2 separate regions of the Homo sapiens genome follow, and region 2 is linked to region 1. The links are contacts of gene promoters, found by promoter capture Hi-C in blood cells and fetal thymus (Javierre and others, 2016). All regions are on one chromosome and are shown on one strand. Each heading gives the region's core, a stretch centred on a gene start or on the middle of the fragment in contact. The rest is flanking DNA. Distances are from core to core; before and after follow the strand shown.

What was found. The method cuts DNA at HindIII sites, captures the fragments that hold promoters and counts their contacts. A CHiCAGO score of 5 or more calls a contact.
Region 2: a contact is called between a fragment that was not itself captured here and the fragment with the promoter of KRABD2 in region 1, in 2 of 17 cell types (naive CD8 T cells and total CD4 T cells). The highest score is 5.6, in naive CD8 T cells.

The regions. Positions count from the first base shown.
Region 1 is chr17:8,375,294-8,378,044 of GRCh38, reverse strand. KRABD2 (KRAB domain containing 2) reads left to right here and starts at 1,341. Exons shown (of 2, transcript NM_001304947.3): 1 at 1,341-2,145. It overlaps RPL26 (ribosomal protein L26), which reads left to right. Exons shown (of 4, transcript NM_000987.5): 4 at 353-529. The coding sequence ends at 481. RefSeq lists a silencer at 1,207-1,406 and an enhancer at 1,151-1,702. The HindIII fragment of the contact is 1,665 bases long and covers 869-2,533 here.
Region 2 is chr17:8,947,197-8,949,896 of GRCh38, reverse strand. The region is part of intron 1 of PIK3R5 (phosphoinositide-3-kinase regulatory subunit 5); the gene reads left to right. Among named protein-coding and RNA genes, the nearest start is that of PIK3R5, 17 kb to the left of the region's middle. The HindIII fragment of the contact is 704 bases long and covers 927-1,630 here.

The DNA.
Region 1 (2,751 bases), core at 92-2,591:
GTTACTTTGGAAACAAATATATTTGTATATGACAGCTTGTAAAACTGTAGTGAGAAGAGCAGAATCATATATTTCTCAGTGAAAAAGAAACAAATCTTATAATGAAGCACAGAAGAGGCTTTAAGAATTACTGATACCATCTTGCCTTTTCTCCTTTGTTGGTAGGAAATTAGTAAATAAGCCAGGTTTGATGGCTAAAGAGTGATTTCTGGAGTTTTTTAAAAGTTAAAATCTTTTCTTATTAGGCATCCACCTACCCCAGGTTTGGGAAATGGTATTGAATGTTGGGCTTTCCCTTGTGTTTTAGTGATTATTTAAAGCTTGGGAGTGTTTTTTTCTTATTTTTCTGCAGGTGGTTATCACTAGGCTAAAACTGGACAAAGACCGCAAAAAGATCCTCGAACGGAAAGCCAAATCTCGCCAAGTAGGAAAGGAAAAGGGCAAATACAAGGAAGAAACCATTGAGAAGATGCAGGAATAAAGTAATCTTATATACAAGCTTTGATTAAAACTTGAAACAAAGAGCCTGTGTTTTGTGTGTGGTGATTTAGGACACTCCCTAGTTTTCAGTGGATCAGTCTCTTACCTCTGATTTGTTGGTCTAAAATTTTTCTGAAATCAGGACTGATGAGATTTTTTTTATAGTGGGCAGCAGCATTTGAGGATATATCAGAAGCTGGAGGGGTGTCATTGAGAAGAAGAAGGCCTACAAGAAAAGCTAGTTGGAAACACTTCCTCTTGAACCTGTCTTTTAACTTGCTTACTATGGATAGGTTGCTATATGGACAGGCTATATTTTTTACCTTACTGCGTAAAAGTTTGTATTGCCATTGGATAGGAAGTCTTGCTTTCAATAGGATAAGAAGCTTCTGTGACTTTATAGCTTCTAGATGACTTCTTCAAGCTGTTCCTCCAGATTGAGAGGTCTCGGGTTCAGGTTATCTGATAGACCCATGGGCCCCCTTTACCTTGTTTTCTGCACAAGTGCTGGATGAGTGCCATCAAACCAAAACCTAACACGTCTTTGAGTTAAAATATAAACTAAACTGCAGCTTCGTCAGGATGAAGTGAAAAGGTGTGAGGTGGCAGCAGTGTGTGTGCTCCTGCCGTTCCTCATTTTAAGCATCTAAACAGGACACCTGAAGCCCGTTTACTTTCCAGGCTGGAGACTTGGCAACAACGTGGGAATGGGGAACGGGCCCGAGTTAAGTCACTGGCTTAGCCAAGGTCACAGCTGGCATCTGGGTGAACAGCGCTGCACGGTGTCCGCGGTGCCTCTAGGGGGCGGGGCTTCCGGCTGGCGCTGACCGGCTTCCGGCGGAGCGGGCGGGAGGTGGGGCGGAGTTGCTGCTCGGGGGCCTCTGGGTGGAGGGGGATTCAGACGCCGCGTCTGGTGTGTCCCTTTCTCCTTCCTGACCTTCCTCAGTCTGCAGCTCTTTTCTCCACCGCGCGCCCGCCTCAGCCGTTCAGCCCTGAGCTGGCGGGTGGACGGGCATGGATCCAGGCGGTGGGAGCAGTCTGCGAAGTCAGGGTAGGAAGGCTACACAAAGGAGGCGACATCCCAGCCCGGTCCTCAGGAATAAGCGGGCGTGCCCGTGTGGTGTGGACGGTGAGGGGACACTGTATTAAGTGCCTTATCTGCATTATCATTGAATCTTCATAGCAATCGATTGTGATGGGTACTGGTCATCTCCCCGGGTTGTAGATGAGGAAACTGAGGCCTCAGTAACTTTGCTTTAGTCAGTAAATGATAAGAGTCAGCAAATGAATTCCCAAGCGTAGACTCGGCCGTACCGCTGCTCTACCTTGCTAATAACGACCTACCTGTAAGCGACATTTTTGACAAAATGTCCTTTAAACATCTTTTGTGCTCAGCTCTGTATTCGTGGGCCCTCCAAAGGGGGTACAGGCAGGTAGAAGCCTCCGTCCCTACCTTATAGGTTGTATATATCTGAACTGGTCGACTAAAGATGCAAAGCGAAGTGCTCCAGTGAGTGTGGTACAGGTTGTTGAGATGAAGGAGAGATGGCAATCAGCTAAAGTTACTGAATACGTCAGGAAGGAGGCTGGTTTCAGCTGGCTGTGATTGGGAGGATCAATGCGAGGACATTCCGAGTCGGAAACAGCCAAGGCGAAGACTCACAGGTGGGTGAAGGGAGTAAACATGGCTTTGGAAATATTTCCAGTTTTCTCTGACCAACTCGTTTATCACCTAGCCGTCACATAGATCACACCAAGAAGCTGATTGATTTACGGTCACATTTCTTTCATGTTGCTTTGGAAAAGATACTGAAGCCTCGGGCAACATAATGAGACCCCGTCTCTACAAAAAAAAAAAAAAAAGAAAGAAAAGAAAAAATTAGCTGGGTCTGGTGACGCATGCCTGTAGTCCCAGCTACTTGGGAGGCTGCGGTAGGAGGATGCCTTGACCCTGGGAGCCGTGATCATGCCACTGTACTCTAGCCTGGGTGACAAAGTGAGACCCTACCCTCTCAAAAAAAAAAAAAATGAAAGAAAAAAGATATTGAAAGCTTAGAAATGTGCAGGAGTGGGCAAGTAAGATGAATAGGTTAGTAGGTCCCGACGTCCTGGGCTGCGTGCAGCCCACAGGCCACAGGTTGGACAAGCTTGATCCAAAGGAAGATGCCGCCTCTCCATCACAGCCAGTTATTGCCAGGCAGCAATGCCGCCAGTGCAGCCAGAATGTTGCCTTTTCAAGAAAGCCAGAAATCGAGGCTGGGTGCAGTGGCT
Region 2 (2,700 bases), core at 29-2,528, 570 kb before region 1:
ATAGATTTTTGGGGAACAGGTAGTATTTGGTTACGTGAGTAAGTTCTTTAGAGGTGACTTGTGAGATTTTGGTGCAGTGTACGTTGTACCTAATGTGTAGCCTTTTATCCCTCACCCACTTCCCACCTTTCCCCTGCTAAGTCCCCAAAATCCATTGTATCATTCTTATGCCTTTGCATCCGTATAGCTTAGCTCCCACTTATGAGTCAGAACATATGATGTTCGGTTTTCCATTCCTGAGTTACTTCACTTAGAATAATAGTGTCCAATCCTATTCAGGTTGCTGCAAATGCCATTACAGAATTCTCCCTTTCTTTTTCTGTTCCTCACGATGACGACAACATTTTCTAATCTGTCTCTGTCTTTCTCTGTCTCTGTCTCTTATACATCTTTCATTTTCTCTGATTCTTCAAAGATAATCGGTAGCAGCTCCCTTTCACAACCTCAAGTTTCTTTATGACTCTGAGATGCCTTTATTCTCTTCTGCAATCCTAAACTCATTTTCAGCAGCAAGCCTCCCTATTTGGCATCAGATGTTTCAATATCGGACCCTTTCCCCGCAATCTACCTTTCACCCTGTGGCTGGTACAACCTTCCAAATCCAAAAGCTGATGTGTCATTCACCAGCTCGAAATTTAGCAGTGGCTCCACATGGCGCTTGAGTAAACCCTTAAGCACTTAGCTTGGCAGATAAGGCTGTTCACAGTCTACCATGCCAGCCCATGCAGCATCATCTCCCAGCGTGCCCCATGTCATGCCTACCCTTCAGTAGGGCTGAACTGCCAGCATTTCCCTAAAGGAACCATGCTGTCTCCCGCCTCTTGCCTCAGTTTATTTTCCTACCATGAGATTCATGCCTGAATCTCACCCAGGGCAGCTCCTCCTTCCTGAAATGTTATCTCGGGAGTCACCTTTTTGGAGAAGCTTTGCTAATAGACATTCTCCCTCCTCCAAGTTCCTATGGCACCTGTCCCATATTAGCCTCCACTGGGACACCTAACCCACTGGGTAGTTTCTAGTTTGAGAGTTATTTTGGATGGTGCTTCTCTGAACTTCCTGTTGCATGTCCACTGGGCATGTAGCTAGGAGGCATATACCTGGGGCCTGGAGCATGCTGAAGTTGAGCTTTAGGGTCTGATAGAGCATCTTCCACTGGGTATGTTGTCGTACCAGCGTACATTCCCCGCAGCAGCCGTGAGGGTTTGCGTGGCTTCACATCCTCACAACAGTGCTTTTTTTTGCCTTTTTCATTTTGGCCCTTCTGCTGGGTGTGTAGTGGTATTGCCTTGTGGTGGGAATGTGCACTTCCCTTCTGACTAATGAAGCGGAGCACCTCTCCACATGTTTAGTGGCCATTTGGACACCCTCTTCTGTGAAGCGTCTATTCAAGCCTTTTGTCCAGTTTTCTACTGGGTTGTCTTTTTCATATTTTTCTGTTGCTCCTTCACATTGTGTAGTGACCTCTCAATCCTCCTCCTGGCCACGAGCTCTGTGAGATTTCTGGACCCCCAGTGCCTAGTGAAGTCCCTCAAATAGTAGACCCTCAATACATATTTTCTGCTGACTAAATAAAACATCTGTGATTCATGCTTTCCAGTGGGTTAACCATTCTCCTTACAATGGTAAAGCTTATCATGGTAAAGCTTTAGCTCCTACTTATAAGTGGAGGAAAAGATGGAGGCAACATAGGAGCGCATTTCGGCTTTCTCTCATGCGTCGGCCACTGTCTTGAGTTACTGGCCTGATTTCTTCTGGTTTGGACTCTGAAAATAGCTTTACGGGTCCTTTTTGATGTATGCTGCATTTTTCTTTTTCTTTTCTTTTCTTTTCTTTTTTTTTTTTTTTTTTTTTTTTAAGACGGAGTCTCGCTCTGTCGCCCAGGCTGGAGTGCAGTGGCTCAATCTTTGCTCACTGCAAGCTCCGCCTCCCGGGTTCACACCATTCTCTTGCTTCAGCCTCCCAAGTAGCTGGGACTACAGGCGCCCGCCACCACACCTGGCTAATTTTTTGTGTTTTTAGTAGAGATGGGATTTCACCGTGTTAGCCAGGATGGTCTGGATCTCCTGACCTTGTGATCCACCGGCCTCGGCCTCCCAAAGTGCTGGGATTACAGGCATGAGCCACCGCACCCAGCTGCTGTATTTTTCTTAAGGCTTGCTTTCATGATACGCTCATTCTCTCTCTTTCGTATCACCTTAACTTGGGGACCTTGATTCCATCTTGACGTATGCCCCAGGAAGTCACACTGGCTCCTTCACATTTCCGCCTCTTTTCTCCCTTGTGACACTCTCTGACTTGCCTTCAGAGCTTAATTTTCCATTTTCTTTCCCTGTTAAGCCACCCTCTCTGACTTCCAGCCTCTTGTTGTTGTTGTTGTTTTAATAGACTAGATACGCACGGAAACAATTCCCAGCCCCTTGGATAGCTGCTTTCATAAAGTCTATGACTCGCGTCTGACTATGTCTAGCATTTTCTTCCGTGATTACTACAAACCCCAGTCATGGGTCCTTTTCTCCCCATTTTCCTCTCACTGCTATTTCACAAAGCTTTCATTGTTCTTGGTGAGAATTAAAGGCAGAAGATAGGACAGTAATCTTCCTCATCACTAACTTGACCTTCCAACAGATGAGATGACCGAGGAGCAGGGATTCATTTAAGAGCCCGGCTCCAACCTAATCAGCTACCAAGCTGCTATCCAGG